7 separate regions of the Homo sapiens genome follow, and all the other regions are linked to region 4. Evidence: promoter capture Hi-C in 16 types of primary human blood cells and fetal thymus (Javierre and others, 2016). All regions are on one chromosome and are shown on one strand. The core of a region is centred on a gene start or on the middle of the fragment in contact, and the rest is flanking DNA. Distances in the headings are between cores, read along the strand shown. Region 1 overlaps PRPF40A (pre-mRNA processing factor 40A). Region 2 overlaps PRPF40A (pre-mRNA processing factor 40A). Region 3 overlaps ARL6IP6 (ARF like GTPase 6 interacting protein 6). Region 4 holds the start of CACNB4 (calcium voltage-gated channel auxiliary subunit beta 4). Region 5 overlaps FMNL2 (formin like 2). Region 6 overlaps ARL6IP6 (ARF like GTPase 6 interacting protein 6). Region 7 overlaps FMNL2 (formin like 2).

The links. The method cuts DNA at HindIII sites, captures the fragments that hold promoters and counts their contacts. A CHiCAGO score of 5 or more calls a contact.
Region 1: a fragment that was not itself captured here is called in contact with the fragment with the promoter of CACNB4 in region 4 in 1 of 17 cell types (M0 macrophages); the score reaches 5.1 in M0 macrophages.
Region 2: a contact is called between a fragment that was not itself captured here and the fragment with the promoter of CACNB4 in region 4, in 1 of 17 cell types (monocytes). The highest score is 5.1, in monocytes.
Region 3: a contact is called between a fragment that was not itself captured here and the fragment with the promoter of CACNB4 in region 4, in 1 of 17 cell types (monocytes). The highest score is 5.1, in monocytes.
Region 5: a fragment that was not itself captured here is called in contact with the fragment with the promoter of CACNB4 in region 4 in 1 of 17 cell types (M1 macrophages); the score reaches 6.6 in M1 macrophages.
Region 6: a contact is called between a fragment that was not itself captured here and the fragment with the promoter of CACNB4 in region 4, in 1 of 17 cell types (total B cells). The highest score is 5.3, in total B cells.
Region 7: a contact is called between a fragment that was not itself captured here and the fragment with the promoter of CACNB4 in region 4, in 4 of 17 cell types (neutrophils, monocytes, M2 macrophages and 1 more). The highest score is 8.0, in neutrophils.

What each region holds. Positions count from the first base shown.
Region 1 is chr2:152,685,029-152,687,728 of GRCh38, forward strand. The region is part of intron 5 of PRPF40A (pre-mRNA processing factor 40A); the gene reads right to left. Among named protein-coding and RNA genes, the nearest start is that of PRPF40A, 31 kb to the right of the region's middle. The HindIII fragment of the contact is 495 bases long and covers 1,132-1,626 here.
Region 2 is chr2:152,665,510-152,668,209 of GRCh38, forward strand. All of the region lies in intron 16 of PRPF40A (pre-mRNA processing factor 40A), which reads right to left. Among named protein-coding and RNA genes, the nearest start is that of PRPF40A, 51 kb to the right of the region's middle. The HindIII fragment of the contact is 800 bases long and covers 933-1,732 here.
Region 3 is chr2:152,725,389-152,728,088 of GRCh38, forward strand. The region is part of intron 2 of ARL6IP6 (ARF like GTPase 6 interacting protein 6); the gene reads left to right. Among named protein-coding and RNA genes, the nearest start is that of ARL6IP6, 8.1 kb to the left of the region's middle. The HindIII fragment of the contact is 1,260 bases long and covers 622-1,881 here.
Region 4 is chr2:152,097,772-152,100,471 of GRCh38, forward strand. CACNB4 (calcium voltage-gated channel auxiliary subunit beta 4) reads right to left here and starts at 1,273. Exons shown (of 14, transcript NM_000726.5): 1 at 1,178-1,273; 2 at 559-642. The coding sequence starts at 1,240. RefSeq lists a silencer at 1,182-1,471. The HindIII fragment of the contact is 7,735 bases long and covers 1-2,700 here.
Region 5 is chr2:152,630,502-152,633,201 of GRCh38, forward strand. FMNL2 (formin like 2) reads left to right here. Exons shown (of 26, transcript NM_052905.4): 21 at 1,507-1,636. Among named protein-coding and RNA genes, the nearest start is that of PRPF40A, 86 kb to the right of the region's middle. The HindIII fragment of the contact is 5,734 bases long and covers 1-2,700 here.
Region 6 is chr2:152,749,785-152,752,484 of GRCh38, forward strand. All of the region lies in intron 3 of ARL6IP6 (ARF like GTPase 6 interacting protein 6), which reads left to right. Among named protein-coding and RNA genes, the nearest start is that of ARL6IP6, 33 kb to the left of the region's middle. The HindIII fragment of the contact is 668 bases long and covers 917-1,584 here.
Region 7 is chr2:152,648,546-152,651,245 of GRCh38, forward strand. FMNL2 (formin like 2) reads left to right here. Exons shown (of 26, transcript NM_052905.4): 26 at 1-1,281. Among named protein-coding and RNA genes, the nearest start is that of PRPF40A, 68 kb to the right of the region's middle. The HindIII fragment of the contact is 1,730 bases long and covers 387-2,116 here.

The DNA of each region.
Region 1 (2,700 bases), core at 129-2,628, 590 kb after region 4:
TCAGGAGGCTGAGGCAGGAGAATCACCTGAACCCGGGAGGCAGAGGTTGCAGTGAGCCAAGATCGCACCATTGCACTCCAGCTTGGGTAACGAGCAAAACTCTGTCTCAAAAAAAAAAAAAAAGAAAAAGCCAAATAATAAACAGAATTGAGGAAAAATACAATCACAGATACAGATTTACAACCAATCAAAACCTAGAGAAAATGATTTCCAAGCAAATCACTTAACCAAAATTGACCCCAGAAAAAGCACATCACACTTGAACATCCCAACAACACAGACACAACAGAAAGATACAAAACCAGATGGTTTCACAGCAGAATGTTATACAACCTTTAAAGAACACAGAATTGCAATGTTACATCATGATTTCAGATTATGGGGAAAAAAAGATGAAATGCTCTCCATTAATTAACAAGAAGCAGAAAAGATACCAGAAGAGCATCATGAATTTAAATTTAACAACATACACACTCTGACCAAGCAGAATTTACTGTAGAAGTGCAAGAGTAGTTCAATATTAGAAAATCTACAGAAGAAATTATTTCCACTATCTAATCAAATGAAAAAAAAAAAAAACACGTGATCCCACTATTAAACTTTGTATGATCAAATCACACCCAGAAAACTAAGTTCACAAGTATTCAAAAAATAAAAAAATAAAAGCAAAATGCTCAAATGAAATAATTTAAGAAATAAAAAACCTAAATGATTAAAAGGCAATCAGTTATCACCCTAAAGCCACTTCCATTAAAATCACAAAAACATGCCTGGAATCACTAAAATTCTAGCAAATATACCACAGCAATAAAATGAAATTACTGGTGTAAATTTTGGAGAAGTAAAGTTCTCTTGCCTTTACTGCTATTTTTACACATATAAAATTCCAGTGAAATCTAGTTACAGTTTTAAAATACTATTTGAATTGATAAGGAAATCTGGTAATGTCATTGGTTACAAGACAAATACACAAAATAATCTGAATAGACGATAACCAGGTTAAAATAAAAATAGGAAAAATACTGTACTCACAATGTAACAACTTTTTCTTTTTTTTTTTTTTGAGAAAGGGTCTCACTCTGTTGCCCAGGCAGGAGTGCAGTGGCAAGATCACAGCTCACTGCAGCCTCAAGCTTCTGGGCTCAAAAGATCCTCCCTCCTGAGCCTCCTGAGTAGCTGGGACTACAGATACACACCACTATGCTGGGCTAATTTTTTATTTTTTGTAGAGACAGGGTCTCACTTTGTTTTCCAGGCTTGTAATACATTTTTACAATGCAAACAGAAACTTTAAAAATAGGGTACCTATTTACCTTACCTAAACAGAATTTAAAACAAAAATCATAATGGAAAAGTGGGAGACTATATACTGGTAAAAAGTAACAGATCAAAAATTATCCTAAACACATATGCATATGGCAATTTAACCTTGAAATTCAGACAGGCAACAGAAAAATACAGGGAGAAACAGATGACTCATCTTTTCTAGTTAAAGATTTTAATTCACTATCTTCTTATGTAGATCCAAGCAGATGAAAGACATGCCAAGATGCAGGAATAACAAAGTAACTTTATATAGCACACAGAATATTCTTAAAAACTAGCCCTGAACAAGAACATACATGAAGCTTTAATAAACTGTAAAGAACTTTACATCTTACAGACTGTACTTTCTGATCATAATGCAATAAGGATAGCTCATAAAAAAAAAAGTTCCCCAAAGATACAATCCATGAAATAATTGATAGGCTGAAAGAACAGATTTAGTTTTCATTAAAGTTAGAAACTTCTGCTCTGTTAAAGATAGTCTGAAGAATGAGAAGATAAGCCACAAACTTGGAGAAAATAGTTGCAAAAGACTTAATATGATAAAAACCTGTTATCTCAAAACTCTACAATAATAAAACAATCTGATTAAAAAATAGGCAAAAGATCCAAAGAAACACTTTCCCAAAGATGTAAGGATGGCAAATAAAAAGATGCTCCACATCACATATAATTAGCCACAAATTAAAGCAAGATACATTACACACCTACTAAAATGGCAAAAGTCCAAAACACTGATATTATCAAATGTTGGTGAAGGTGTGGTATACCAGAAATTCTCATTCATTGCTGTTAGGAATTCAGAGTGGTGCAGCCACTTTGGAAGACAATTTCAAGGTTTCTTAACAAAACTAAACATACTCTTACAACACAATCCAGCAATAGTGCTCCTCGTTATTAATATCTACCCAAATTAGCTGAAAACTTACGTTCACACAGAAAACCTGCACATGGATGCTTTACTCATAATGACCAAATCTTGGGAACAACCAAAACGTTCTTCAGTACATAATGGATCTGGATGTGGTACATCCAGATAATGAGTATTATTCAGTGAGAAAAAGAAATGAAGTATCAAGCCATAAAAAGACAATGGAGGAAACTTAAATGCATATTACTAAGTAAAACAAGCCAATCTGAAAAGGCTACATACTGTATGATTCCAACTATATGAAATTCTTAGAAAAGCAAAACTACGGAGGCAGAAAAACAAACAAACAAACAAACAAAAACAATGGTTGCTGGAGTAGAAGAGGAAGAAATGAATAGGCAGAGCACCAATTTTTAGAGCAATGAAACTATTCTGTGTGATACTGCAAGGGCTGATACATACATATTCATTATACATTTGTCAAAATATATAGAATGTACAAT
Region 2 (2,700 bases), core at 83-2,582, 570 kb after region 4:
TTCTTTTCTCAAACCCTGCCTGTATCTACCCTTCTGTCAACTACCCTTACCCTTCAACATAAATGGAATTTTGTCTTAACCACTCTTGTTGTGCTCACCAGCTTCCTCACTTGCTCCCTGAGTATCTAAAATAGTTTGGAAACCATCTTTAGTGATGCTCTAGTACCTTAGAACTTACCTCACTCTATCATACCTGTTTTGCTAGTGTTTCTTACACTTCCAGACTGGTGAGATCTGTCTGATAAAGTCAAAGAACTGTGAGACTGAAATTATTTCAATAGTGGATCCCTAACCTGAAAGAATCACCTGAGGAATATTTTTTTAAAGCAATATGAATTAATATCCAGATATTTGGAATATTAGATGACTGATGTGAATTCAGGTTTGAAAACCACTCTGACAAAACTGTATGGTTCTTATTCTATTTTACTTGCCCCATTTTAGGGGTGAAAAAGCCTTGCCTTTTACATTATGGAAAGCAAGTTGCTTCAAAGATGGCTGAGCTTGATGTTTCTTCTTCCCGTGGCACTAATGACATCTTGGATGACGTAATTTTTTTTTCTTTCTTTCTCTTGGTTGAGGGCGGGGTATGTTTGAGCCCTGTACATTGCAGGATGTTTATCAGCATCTCTCGCCTCTACACACTAGATGCCAGTAGCATGTTCCCCACAAATAGTGACAATCACAAAATCTTTCTTGGTTGAGCACCACTGTCTTAGATCCAAATCGGTATTAATTTTTCTCCATCTTCATCCTTCTTTTTGTTCTCTTATATACTGTTCTCAATGTAACTGTATTCATATATATGCTTGAATTCCCAACTTTCCGAGATGTTGTTTAATGAGACTCACCCTTATTTTTCAATTCTTCCTTCATTCTCTCCCTCTTAACTGGTTTCCTCTTACCCAAGAAAAGCCTTTCTCTTAACTGCAAGCTTATTTGAATTTTACCTTATTGAATATCTTTCAACTATTTGGCAGACCTTTAACTTTCCCTACCATGCCAATGGTCACTAAACACCTTAAATGCCACTCTTAACACCTTAAATGCCACCCTTAACAGTATTCTTTCAGTCCTCATTCCATAAAAATTTCTTAACATGTTACTTTAGGTGGATTCCTTTACCTCAGGGGTTTCTCAAAGACTCATTTGAAGGACTGTTTAAAAAAATCATATTGTTAGGTCCCATTTCCAGAATCTGATTCTGTAAGTCTGACGTGGAGTTTGAGAATATGCATTTTCATAATTTCCCAGGTGATACTGATTCTGTGCATTTGGGGATCATGCTCTATCTTAAAATTCCAAACTCTTGGCTTCTGAGACACTATACATTCCTCTGGTTCTCCTTGAAAGCCTCAGATCAATCCTTTCCAGACAAAACTGACTTCAAATACCAGTTTTAAGACATAAGAAAAACAAGATCATAGTTTCCTTGTCACAGACATGATGAATTTTCTGATTAGCAAATGAACACTAAATAAAAAGCTAGTCATCATCATAATCATAACTACTGAGAAGCTCTCCATTAATGATCTTTTATTGTCTAATGCCAATCTTCTCTTTTAATTCATTTCACTAAAGTCCTAAATAAATCTTTTGAAATAGCACAACAGGAAAATTACCAGGCTGAATATCTGAAAGAATATTAATACAACATACTTAACACCAATTATATTAGTAGTAATCAGAAACTATGCCAGACACATAGCAATCTGATTCAAAGCCACATTTAAGCTTATTTAAGGAACCGTAACAGCCTTCACATCAAAATTTTGCCTCACAGTCTCCATCTTCAATATTGTTTACATTATAGTCTCGTATTTTCTATGACCCAGACCTTATTTTCACTGTATTATTATTTTTTCATATATGTCTCCTTATTTTAAACCACTGCAAAACCTTCATCAGAGACATTAAAGCTTAAGTTGTGGAAGAGTGTATAATAGCCCTCCTAAGAATCTGTCCTCCCCTTCTTTCTGGGCACATGGCTGCTTAGCTAAAAGCTAAGTTTTCTAGCCTCCTTTGTGTAGCTAGTTGTGGCCCTGTGACTAAATTCTCAGCAACTGAACCCAAATGAAGGAGGTGAGCAGAACTTCTACATCATTAGCTTTAAGAAGAACTGTTCTTTCTACTTTTTCCAAGTTAAAATGTGAAATGGGGGCAGCATACCCCTAACTCTGCAGAGAAGGTTAACATGCTAGCGCACTGGTTCTCAAACTATGGTCCAACAGTATCAATATCACCTGGAAATTTAGAAATGAAATTTTCAGACTCCACCCCAGACTTACTAATTCAAATTCTTCAGGTAAGGCTAAACAATTTGTGTTTTTAACCGTTGTAGAACATGATCAAGTCTAGAAAGTCACTAAGATAAAGGAACCTATCAAGAGTAGTAAATGTTAAGTTTTCATTGAATAAGGACTGAAATCTTTCTACTGGCTGTGACGTTTAACACAGTAACCTTTGGCATAGCGCGAATAATTTTTTTTTTTGGAGACAGGATCTCGCTCTTTTGCACAGTCTAGAGTGCAGTGGCACCATCGCAGCTCACTGCAGCCTTGACCTCCTGGGCTCAGGTTCTCCCACCTCAGCCTCCTGAGTAGCTGGGACTACAGGCATGCACCACCACACCCGGCTAATTATTATTATTATTATTTTGTATTTTTAGTAGGGACCGGGTTTCATCGTGTTACCCAGGCT
Region 3 (2,700 bases), core at 2-2,501, 630 kb after region 4:
CTTTTATGAGGTCTGCATCCTAATTTATTTGATACTGTTTGTAAGTGGACAGATGCTAAGGGCAGATGTGTATACAAAGGTGATTTGGAAAAAAAAATGCAAAAAAGAATTATTGGGTTGACCATTTGAATTGTTTGTAATCTAAAAATGAAAATATGTTACAAATTATGGAGCAAAGAAGATTGTTGTCCTCTTTTCGTCAAAATAAGCCATGAAAGGCTTAAAAATTCCTTCAAACATTGTGTTTTAATGACGCAAGTGCAAAAAAAAAAAGCAGGAATAATGACAAGCTGTAACCAATTTGAGATGTATCTGAAATCTGGAAGTGGTATTTACAAGATGGATATGTTGTAGATTCATACATGAAGTTAGTAAGCAATTATTTGCACTCAGGTCGTGCCCATTTTTGGTGTACATGACTTTAGGGAAACTGGGAATTGAAATTCGGATTTGCTGTATTTATTTCTTATGAAAATTTTTAACAAAGTTTTTTTCCTGCTGTCTTTTTGCTCTCTAAATTATTCTTCAAGTGTCATGAAAATAAAGGAAATAAAAAAGCCTCTTTGGACTTATATGATAAAAATATTGATGACTGTTTTCCCTGTTATACTGAAGATTACAAGCTTCAGAGGAGAATATAAATTTAACAGGATTGCCCATGAATTAATTGTTTAAAGCTGGATGATGGGTATATGAGTTTTATATACTTCTCTCAACTTTTTCCTGTGTTTGAAATGATCTGTAATAAAAGTGTTGGGTTTTTTTTTTAATTTTCCCATGTGAATCTAATGATTTACCAATGTTGGGAACTACAGGTGTTATTTATTTTTGAAATTTCAGTCACTTAATCTGTCAGAGGATCACCTTCCTCATCTGTTTCAACAGAAAGATGTAGAAATGCTACAGTCTGGGTTGCAGGTGGTCGGGCGATTGGGTGAAGGCCTTAACCAGTGTAACTGCTATAGCTACCATGCACTCTGCACCCACTATGCTCATGTTGCATTGGCAGGAGAGGAGAGAGCACTTTCCTCTGCTCCTGCACTTGGCTTTGACGTGTAAAGAGACACTTTGCTCTAGGGATTTAAAGACTTGAGCTATCTATAGAATGTGATTTAGAGAGGATACCAAATTATTTAAAATAATGGTCATCCTCTCAAGTTAGAAAACTATAGAATCTAATAAAGTTGAGAACATTTGCTTACATAAACATTTAAAAATTGATGGTTAGTTTCATGCATATGATACATCTAAGTTTTATTAGTAGCCAGCTGGTAATAGTTTTTACAACTTTTAAAGTTAGCTAAGTACAGCCATACACCACATACCATTTTGGTCAACAGTGGTCTGCATATATGCCTGTATGATGGTGGTCCCATAAGATTACAGTGGAGCTGAAAAATTCCTATTTAGTGGCATTGCAACTGTCCTAACTTGGTAGTACAATATATTGCTCACATGTTGGTGTTGATGCTGGTATAAACCAACCTATTACCAATCTAGTTTTATATAACCTTCCAGTCATAAAAAAAAATACAGCACAATTACGTGCAGTACATAACATAATTCTTGATAAACAATTATGTTACTGGTTTATGTATTTACTATGCTTCTTATTGTTTTAGATTATATTACTTCTGCTTAAAAAAAGTTGACTGTAAAACAGCCTCAGGCAGGTCCTTCAGGAGGTATCCCAGAAGAAGGCATTGTTGTCATAGGAGATGACAGTTTCATGCATGTTGTTGCCCTTGAAGACCTTTCAGTGGAAAAAGATGTGACAGTGAAAAACAGTGATATTACCTTGACCCTATGTAGGCCTAGGCTAATGTGTGTGTGTCTTAGATTTCAACAAAGAAGTTTAAAAACTAAAAAATTAGAAATAGAAGCTTATAGAGTAATGGTATAAAGAAAAAACATTTTTGCACAGCTGTACAGTGTCCTTTTGTTTTAAACTGTTAGTAGAAAAGGGTAAAGTTAAATTTTAAAATTTATAAAGTAAGAAAGTTACAGTAAGCTAAGGTTAATTTATTAATGAAGAGAAAAATTTTTTAATTTAGCGTAACCTAAGTGTACAGTGTTTATAATAGTCTATTGTAGTGGACAGTAGTGTCCTTGGCCTTCACCTTCACTCATCAGTCACTCGCTCACTGATTGACCCAGAGCAACTCTTTGTCCTGTAAGCTCCATTCATTGTAAGTACCCTATACAGGTGTACCATATTTTATCTTTTACACTGTATTTTTACTGTACCTTTTCTATATTTAAGTATGTTCAGATACACAAGTACTTATTGTTGTATTACAGTCGCGTGCAGTATTTGGTATAGTAACATGCCGCACAGGTCTGTAGCATTGGAATAATAGGATATAACTGTATAGCTCATAGGTGTGTAGTAGGCTATATACCTAGGTTTTTGTAAGTACGCTCTTGTGATGTACAAACAACAACGAAATCACCTAATGATGCATTTCTCAGAACATATCCCTGTCATCAGTGTATGATTGTATTGTATTTTCATTGTTAGTATCATAAAATGCATTAGTTACGTAAGTAATTTAATCTCACCAGGAAAGATTCCAACAATTAAAGCAAAGGCTTTCACCGATCTACCTGTGTGTCTTTTTACATCTTTTTCTCTTTGTTTACATATGTATAGTCATTTAAAATACATGTTTTTTTCACTGTTATAGGAAAAATATAATT
Region 4 (2,700 bases), core at 23-2,522:
CTGTCTTTCCCTAACTAAGCGAATCCAAGAAGCGGTCCTAAAGTGAGAGTAAACTTTCTGCTCAGTGTCTTTCTTTTGACCGGAGCTTGACGATCTCTCCCAAGATCCAGACAGATAAGAGTATTCAAATTAGGACAAAACAGAAGAAACCACTAAATCTCAACTCGAATCAAACCAGGTCCCCGGCCCCGAGGGGTCTGGTTACTCTAGGTCGAGTTATACGAATTAAAGACATTTCTCCACGCACCAAAGATACAACCAGACATATTTCCAGCTCTTAAATTCAACGTCCCTGACTTAAGCCAGGTCCCCACCGAACTGTCCACACACATGCACAAACTAACTTCCCGGGGCGGTGCGGAGACGCCGGGACGCGAAGACGTCAAGAGCCCAGGCTAGAGGGAGAGGGACTGAGCCCGAGCACCGGCCGAGGCCGGGAAGAGACGCGCGCGGGCTTGACCCGCAGCTCCCGCACGTGTGGGCCACGGCCGGCTCCAGGACCCCCGCGCCGCGCGCTCGGCCTCCTCCCCATCCTGGTCTCCCGCCTCCTTCTCATACCTGTCTGAGGATGAAGCTGGTCGAAGTGGTGCTGCCATCGGATCTTTTCAACCTGCTCCTCCGGGTTGTGGTGCCTCGGGCCACCTGGACTCGACACACGGGGGCCAGAGAGAAGCCGGTGAGGACCGCAGCGCAGAGCGGGGCGACCACCCCCGGCTGGAGTCCGCCTCCGGACCCGCTCCCTGGGGTCCCCTAGAGCCCGCACCCAAGTCTCCTCCGCGACTCCCAAATACAGCCCCCACCCCCACCCACCCACTGCAAGCCTCGACTGCTGAAAAGATGCTCGAGAAGAGCAGCCCGCAAGCACCCACCACATCCATTAACAAAGACTCTCAGGGTGCGGGGTCCGAGTCCCCGGCATCCGCTGGGGGAGGCTGCGGGCTCCGGAGCGGGAGCGCAGAGACCCGAAGGAGGGTGAGGAGGAGGAGGAAGAGAAGGAGGAGAAAGAGGAGGAGCGGGAGGAGAAAGGGACGTGGAGGAGGGGTGGGGGGAGCGGGGCCGCCGACTCCCGGGACTGGGGCCCCGCACGCCCGGCACGAAGGCGGGGCGCGCTAGGGCGGCGGAGGAGGTGTGAGGAAGGAAGAGGAGGAAGAGGAGAAGGGGGAGGAGGGGGCGGTACCTGCGAGGTGGGGGAGTGCGGCCCGTCCGCGGTCCCGTTCTTGGCGTAGGAGGAGGAGGACATCGTTCAGAGCCGCCGCATGGCCAGCCCGTGTGCGGTGGGCGGAGGGGGCTGGCCCCCGAGGCTGGGCTGCGGACGGAGGGGGAGGGCGCAGGACTTCCCCACCCGGCTCCAGGACCCGCGCCGGCGCCCAGGCTCCCTGCCCGCACTTCGGAGAGCGCGGCACCTTAAAGGGACCGAGGCGCTTCCCCCGCGCTCGCGGCGGGGTCCCGGGGAGGGGGCTTCTCGGAAACTCGCCTACCCGAGCGGATTGGGAGAAGCGCTCTCCCACCTAGCAAGCGCTTTACATCAGAGCTTCCAGAGGATGAAGGGAGGGGGAAATCTGGGATGGGGGTGGCAAGATTAAAATAGTCTGCACAGTTTAAAATGAGACAAAGGTGGCACGGTTCATGAATCAGGACTTGGGGACGGAAGCTGGTGCAGTGTGGCGGGAATGGGAAGAACCGAGCGGGTGTGTGTGTGTGTGTTTGCTGCACTGGAATTTTAAAAGGGCAAGAGCAGAGCCACCTTCCGCGACTTCACTCATCAGCCTAATGTGTAAGGCATGGGGTTTTGTGGCTTGCTTTTCGTCCGTGTTTTTGTATTGCTTTGGCAATTCTGTCCTTAGAGCTGCGAGTCACACACATCCAGGCAGCTGTGAGAAACCCAGCCAGCCTGAGTCTGACGGGAGATGCTGCCCCGCCAAAGACCAGTATGTCCTACGGAGTTTTGAAGGTCATGTTAGACCTGCTAAGAAGCAAGAGTTGGTCACTGTGCCTCCCATTTCTATGCGAATGGATATTTTCAAGGGGGAGAAACTCATCCTTGCAACCATACACAACGTTTGCCATTGGTTTCCTCCTGTAAATACATACAAGAGATTAATTTGTGATCAAATTAAAAGAGAGGGATTGCGGAAAGGAAGAATAAGTGCGAGGTATTGACAGAGGAATAAGAAGAGGGAAGAAAAGTATATGCAAATTCAAAAATAAAGAGACTCCGTTTAAATTAAAATATACTTACTATCTCAAATCGCTAAATCAGCTTGCATTCTAGGACTTTATGTTTATGGACACAACTACCATGCTTGTTTTAATAATTGCTTGGCTTTATTGAGGTCCTGGTTATATCTTACCATCCACCAGACACTTCCTTTCCATTCCTAATCCCTTCACTTAATCCAAACCTCTGTAACAATCTTATAACTAATGTCCTTGCCTCCAGGCTTCCTGGTGCATGTGCACGTATGCACATGCACACATACACACGCAGAGATTTCATTCCATCTACACACTACAGGCAAAACCATTTTCCTAAAATATCTTGCCCAAGTCACTCTTCTCTAAGATAAAGTCCAAACTCCATGGTCCAACAACTCAGCCTCTCCTGCATTTCTGATCACTCTCCATCTCATTTCTCCATCTTGATCTCTCTATACAAACCTTCCAGCAAGCAGGCAGGTCTAGTCATCAATACCCAAGTAT
Region 5 (2,700 bases), core at 72-2,571, 530 kb after region 4:
TCACCTAACTAATGTGAATAAGACTAGAGAAAATCCTCCGTGGACTCCCTCCAGACTGTGCAGGCCTAACGTGATTGTCACATGAGAAGGCTGGGCAGTGGGTTGAGTCCCCCGACCAGGGAGCTAGTTATTTAATATGGAGTGTCTAGTCAGTCACAGTTCTGGCCTCCAGCAGATCATGATCAGTTAAGCATGTCTGTTTCAGGTCTTCACAGGCTAGGAAATAAGGGAGGGCCTAAGCTAAATGTAAAAACTGGAGCATAGGAGCCCTGCTGTGTAGGAGGCACCTGCATGCACCTGCTGGCTGTACATCCCCATTTCTCCTCTGGCTTTTTACTTTGAAGAGCACTAAAATTAGAGCCGTCCTGCTTTTAAGGCAAGGAAGGTGGGATAGCAGATGCAGGGCTGGGAGAGTTCATGTAATCAGTGTCCCCCTTATCCATGGGGGCTGTGATCCAAGACCCCCAGTGGATGCCTGAAACCTCAGATAGTACTGAATCCTATATATACACTGTTTTTTTTCTAGAGATGCATATCTGTTATAAAGTTGAATTTATAAATTAGGCACAGTGAGAGATTCACAATAACTAAAAAATAAAATAGGCCAGGCCTGGTGGCTCACACCTGTAATCCCAGCACTTTGGGAGGCTGAGGCGGGAGGATCACCTGAGGTCAGGAGTTTGAGAGCAGCCTGGCCAACATGGCGAAACCCTGTCTCTACTAAAAATAGGAAAATTAGCTGGGCTAATTTTTGGGTCACAGGCACCTGTAATCCCAGCTACTCGGGAGGCTGAGGCAGGAGAATCGCTTGAACGCAGGAGGTGGAGTTTGTAGTGAGCCAAGATTGTGCCACTGCACTCCACCCTGGGCGACAGAACGAGACTCCATCTCAAAAAAAAAAAAAAAAAAAAAAATAGAGCAGTTAAATAAAACACGTTACTTGAACACAAACACTGCAATAGGCGGCAGTTAACCTGATAACCCAGATGGCTACTAAGTGATTAATGGCAGGTAATGATTACAGCGTGGATCCACTTGACAAAGGGGTGATTCTCGGTCTAGGGTGGATGGGAATGGCACGTGCGAGGTTTTATCATGCTGCTCAGAGTGGTGCGCAATTCAAATCTGATGAATTGTTTATTTCTGGAATTTTCCACTTAGTATTTTTGGATACCTGAAACCTGTGGGTTTCCTGAAACCATGGGAAGTAAACCTGTGGGTAAATAGGAACTACTGTAGAGGAAAGCTGCGAATCATTCTTAGGTGCTTAGAGTCATCCCTATAGTTAAGCATGTGCCCTGGTTGGAAAGTCCTTGAGCCAGTTAAGCATCAATGGACTGGTTCACTAAGGAACAAATGGAATCCTGACCCTCCTCTGGGAATGCTCCAGCCTGTTGGGCGACTGTTACTCAGTTAATGACTCTGGGTGGGAAATCGTCACCTGAGGGGTAAGTGTCTTGTTACCCTTTACTCTTGTACCTAACCCACGTTCCCTTTTGTTTTCAGCTCTTAGATACAAAGTCAACAGACAGAAAGCAAACACTGTTGCACTATATATCCAATGTGGTGAAAGAAAAATATCACCAAGTGTCCCTGTTTTATAATGAGCTTCATTATGTGGAAAAAGCTGCTGCAGGTACTTGATTTCAGCTATTACCGTTCGTCTTGGGTATTTAATGCCTTTAATTGTGGTGGAGCCATTCCCTGCTTAAACACTTTTCAGAACCCATTTAAAAAGCCAAGGCTAAGAAGTCAGACACACTGAGCTGGAACACATCGGCCGTGGTGTTGTCCACCCCTGAGAGCAGAAGAGCACATGGGTGTAAAGGTGATCTCTGTGTCCTTTCTGTAAGACACAGGCCACTGAGCGTCATGTCCCTTCCCTCTTTTATTCACTGCCCTTTTTATTCTGCTGCTATTGTATGAAATGTGAGAATGAGAATCTGAGAATCATCACCCAACAAACACTTTTAATTTGATTTTGTGCCATTCTACTTGCTCAAGTGTGGCAGTTGTAAACATTTTGCCTTTGCCTGGACACTAGTTAAATTATTAGCACTTCTTGGTTGCTACTTTGCTAAGACAGTTATACATTTTGTCATTTAAATCATCTGTGACTCTAAGATAGCTGGGATGTACAAGGTAATAGTATCTCCATTATTATAGGTGAGAAAATTGAGATTTTTCGAGGTTAAATGTCTTGCCCAAAGTCACATGAGTAGAAAGTGATAGAAACAGGACTAGAAACCTGGTCTTACTTCTCATGAAGTGTATTATCCAATGTACCATGTTCCCTCAAAAGCATATTCGATTAGCAAAAGGAATGATATGCAGATTGACCTTACAGTCATTTATAGGCTGTGATTCTCAAATTGTGATATCGAACCATAAGCAGCCAGTGTTTATTATAAATTCAGATTCCTGTGGGGTACCTCAGGCATCTGGAATTTTGGAGGGTGAGGCCTTCTCTAACTCAGCCATGGTAAATGGCTGCTGCTTCTGTGTTCTCACTAAAGAACACTCTGGTCTACCCTCTCGTACAAGATTTCTCATACTGTATTACAACAATTTGCATGTCCATTGCAATCTGTGCTCTTCTTTTTTTTTTTTTTTAGACAGGGTCTTGCTCTGTGGCCCATGCTACAGTGCAGTGACATGATCACAGCTCACTGCAGTCCTGACCTCCCAGGCTGAAACGAT
Region 6 (2,700 bases), core at 1-2,500, 650 kb after region 4:
TAGAATTTTTTATTATTGAAAGGAATTCTCTAGAACCAGAAAAAGGTCATACCTTCTATATAGCTTATCTTTCAGGATATGGAAGTAGATCTAAAGAAACGTTCTGGTTTTGCCATTGGGTACTCTATTTTACTACTTATTCTTTCATATGGTCAAATGAAGAGTCACATCTTAACAATGTTGATTTAGCAGGTTAAATTATATCCATTAATTTTCATCATAGATAGGTCTCCTTAATTGACTCTTTGGGACTAAAATATTTATATCCTCTGCATCATTGTTCTAGTTTTAAGTACAGGTAATGTTGACCAATAACCTGTTTTAATAGGTAAAAAACTGTACATAATCTTTTTGAGGTGTTTTTTAGGATTATTTCTTGCTACCTGGGATACTTACAGAAATGTAGAACTGAGACCGAGCGCAGTGGCTCACGCCTGTATCCCAGCACTTTGGGAGTGCTGGGTGGATCACCTGAGGTTAGGAGTTCCAGACCAGCCTGGCCAACATGGTGAAACCCCATCTCTACTAAAAATACAAAAATTAGCTGGGCATGGTGACACGTGTGTTTGTGACCCCAGCTACTTGGAAGGCTGAGGCATGAGAATCGTTTGAACCTGAAAGGCGGAGGTTGCAGTGAGCCAAGATCACACCACTGCACTCCAGACCAGGTGACAGAGCAAGACTCTGTCCAAAAAAAAAAAAAAAGAGAGAGAGAGAGAGAAAGGAAGGGAGGGAGGGCGGAAGGAAGGAAATGGAAGGAAATAGAAGCGACCTTAGGTTCATCTGGTCCAGTTTTTCTCCTGAGAAGCATGAAATCTTAAGTTGGAGTTCCACTTCTGGTTCTTTTCTTTCCCTTTACACAATGTACCTCTTTTGTCTGTCAGTCCATTGCTGTACCTTTTAAAACCTGGGTTAAAGCTTGTATCATTAAGGAAACTTAACCTTGTTAATAATATTGTGTGCTCTGCTCGTTTACATTTTATATCCAGTTAACACAAAAGCATTTTAAAGCAAAGGAATGTTTTAGGAAAATTCATCTGTGCAATGTATTTAAGTACATGGAGAGAATGTCAGCAACTTAGAATTTCTTTGTGAATTTGTTTTAACCTGTCACATTCGTATATGCAAATAATAATTGTAGTAACATCTCCACAAATAGTCATGCCATTTTCAAAAATATATAAGCCTTGTAAATTTTGAAGTAAAATGGAAGGTCTTCAAAGTGAAACATTTCTATGATGTTGCCATGAAACCGTGGGATTTTTTTTCTTGTTTTTTTCTTTTACCTCATTCAGTAATGCAGTTTTATCTACTACCCACTTTTGAAGTTTGGCAGTATTAATAATAAATAATGCTGTAGTTTTACTTGAATGGAAATTTTTTAATTTTTATCTGATCAAGTTTCCCACGTTTGACTTTTTTTTTATTTTTAGTTGACACATAATAATCATATTCATTAGTGGAATACAGAATGAATGATAGTCCCATACAATGTGTAATGATCAAATCAGGCTAATTAGCATATCCATCACTGAAAACATTTATCATTTCTTTGTATTGTGAGCATTCAAAATCTTCTCTTAAAGCTTTCTGAAAATACGCAATAAGTTACTGTTAACCATATTTACCCTAAAGTGCTATAGAACACTAGAAGTCATTCCTCCTATCTGATCGTAATTTTGTATCCGTTAACTAACCTCCTGCTATCCTCTCTCACCCCACCCACTGCTGTTTCTTCCCCGGCTACCCCACCACCCTTCTCAACCTCGAATAACCACAGTTCTACCTTCTACTTCTATGAGCTCATTTTTTTTAAGCTTACACATGTGAGTGAGAACATGTGATATTTATCTTCTTATGCCTGACTTATTTCACTTAATGTCCCCCAGACTCATCCATGTTGCCAGGAATGACAGTATTTCATTTTTTTTTAATGGCTGAATAGTATTCTGTTGTGTATATGTACCACATTTTCTTTATCCATTCATCTGTTGATGGACACTTAGATTGAGTCCATATCTTGACTATTGTGAATGGTGCTGCAGTAAACATGGGGTACACATATCTCTTGAATATACTGATTGTCCTTTCTTTGGGTAAATACCCAGTAGTGGAATTGCTGGATTATATGGTAGTTTCATTTTTAGATTTTTGAGAAACTTCATACTGTTTTCCATAATGGCTATATTAATTTATATTCCCATCACCATGTTAGACTATTACACAGAATTTCAGAAATTATAGTCATTTTGCTTTATTGATCTAAATTACGTAATAAAGGTAAGTTGCTTCTGATCAGGCTTATTCTTCTGGGATTAGGTCCTTTCCTTTCCCTTATCTTTCTCTTCATGAAATTGTAGAAGAACCAATGAATAAAAATTACATATTCTCTATTCAGTCTTTTCAAACCCCTCTACCCTTCTGTTACCATTTGCCTAACAGTGTTTTCCTGCTTCAGAGTATGGAAATAAAAAGTCATGACCTGCAATAATAAGAACCATTTTGGAATCCATAGTAGACTCCATGATGAAACTGAACAAAACTGAAACCAAGCCTGGGCAACATGGCAAAACCGTATCTCTACAAAAAATCAGCCAGGTTTGGTCATGCGTGCCTCTAGTACCAGGGTTACTTTTAGGAATGCCTTGAGTAAGTTGTCCAGGTCGTTGGCATTTTGAACAAAGAATTGAACAAAACCCT
Region 7 (2,700 bases), core at 2-2,501, 550 kb after region 4:
GTATAAGACTTATTTGCAGTACTGTGTTCTTCAGCTAGAGGCAGCTTTTTAAATAATGCAAGTGTATTTATTAGCATTAAAATTAACATCTCAGTAATCAGCATTAGCATTTCTGAGGACCATTATTAATTCTGAGAACAGAAATTGGTGCCTTGCAAGGAAGTTTACTAGCTCTATCAACAAGCATTCAAGGTTACATCTGCTAGCAGAGTAGTGTTAGGAACCTGGCCTTACTCTCCTCTGACAATCGCAATTTTTTCTTATTTTTTATAAATTCAAGAAGATACACTTGGCATCGTGTATCGAGGCTAAGTTTTTCATGCATTTCCCAGACTACTTATGGAGAATTGCAGTTTAAGTTGCTGAAAAGTATTAACATGGTATTAAGCTTAAATAATACGTAATGGGACTAGATGGCCCACTAAGCCACTGTTATTTTCCTTCCTCTCTGGCAGGGCACTTGATCCATTCCAAAGTCAAAAACTGGACTGAAGCTAAATTTGTACTTTTCATAATATACATTCTGCTTCTGGCTTATCTTCTTGGTACATCAATATATTAATTGTAAAGTTTATTGTATAGTATTTAACCGCTGAAGTTCCTATTTTATGTTGTGCTTATGTGAACCCCTTGGTGAAGGTCCCTTTTCCTTGGATGTGTAGTTATATGATCTTTTTAAATGTACAGATATTTTGCTATAAAATCGGTGCAGTTTTTTATGGTTTTTACACTTCTCTTTAATTCCCACCTAAGCCTCTGGGTAATATTGTAAATATTGTTTTAAAATGCATCAGCCTATGCTATACAATCTGAATGTTATTTTAACTTATAGTTTTTTTTAATATATATATTTAACTATAAGGACAGTTTAGGGAACAAGTTACCTACCACATTTCACTTTAGTGTACCTATTTACAGAAAGATTAAACTGCCACCTGCGGGCACATTCCCATAAATGTGTACTTTACTTTAAAAAGAACATGCCACGATTTTGTCTTTCTGTGGACTCAACATTCACTTCGATTAAAAATAGCAATTTGACCAAGTTGGACTTCCACTACAAAGCAGCTGTTTTCCAAAGTTCAATGCTGACATATATGTATATTAAAATAATTGCCTATTTATTAATCTACAAATAGACAACGTTGGCATGTTCTTTTCTGTTTGTCTATTAATGGGCCTGCTTCTTAGCAATATTAGAATGTTTTATAAAAGCAATTCATGTTACTTTTCTGGTCTTTTCATGGCATATGAGCAAATAATAAACTATTTACACTACTATTCTGTAATATGTTGTAATCTTTCAATGGTACAATTTAGGGGGTTTTAGCAATATTATGTAGACTTACCTTCTAGAAACAAATATATCTTGCTATTTGAACTCAGAATCCAAATATACTTGGTAAACGTCAGGAAGGATTCCTCCCTATGTGAACTCTTGACCGCTTGCTATATAAAACATAGACAATGGATCTTGGAAGTGAGACTACATCTCCAAAATTGCATTTATAAACATACACCTTCTAGGTAAACAGCACCTTTGTTTGGTGAAATGCCACAACGCCCCCAGCAGCCCCACCAAATGTTACAATTAGGATGTTGTACAAATAAAGATAATAGGCTATATATTAACTGCATAGTTAACCCTGCACCCAATAACCATACCAGTTGGCAAGGCAAACAAGCAGTTTGGCCCCCATTGCACAAACAGTTGTAATAAAACTCCCAGTCATCAAAAGTTTATGTGTAACATTTCATATGTTCTTTTTATGGAAACAAGAAAAATTTTAAATTTTAGAATACCTTTCAAGTGGCTTAAATTTAGAGGCATATATATTATAGTCATTTAAGGAATTATAATTTATATAATTATTGTCACAACTACCACAGCGTACTTTGCATTTGTCACACACAACTGCTTACAGATTAAAGGCAATAATCTTTATTCCTCACAAGAAGCCTGTGAGGTATTTAACACTGTTGTGCACATTGGGAAACTGACTCAGCAAACTGACTTGCCCAGGGTGCAATCTAATAAATGCCTATAATAAAGCCTTAGGTCTTTTGTTCGCAATTCAGTGCACTTTCCACTAAACCAGTTATACAATGTGTTAGAAGCTTTATTTTATGAGAGAAAAAGTCTTGCGATCAGTAAGGATCTCTACTTTTGTTTTACCATCAGACTGGTGCCTAATGGTAAAAGAAAAATCTTTTAATATTCCACAAATTCAGAATGTTTTCAAACTCAACTACAGCAGTTAAGTTCAAATGAGGCAGATAGAGTAACATTCATCTTTCTTTTAAAAGGTATTTACCAATGACTTTGAATTAAATACTCACGTTCCCCACTCCCCATCATCTAACACTGAAATTCACTGCAGTGCCCAGTGGCCATCCTGACTCAACTCTGCTCTCAATAGAATAGGGCTTGATACCCATCACTGACTCTGCTTTGGTTCAACATACTGGAATCTTCTCTGTAGAATAAGGTGATTTTACACTGGAAAATAAATAGATGATACATTTCTTATACTCGCTCCATAATCCACATTTTGTTTGTTAGACAAGGTCTGGCTCTATCACCTAGGATGGAATGCAGTGGTACAATCTCGGCTCAGGGCAACCTCTGCCTCTTGGGCTCAAGCCATCCTCCCACTTCAGCCTCCCGAGTAGCTGGGACTGTAGATACGCACAACCACA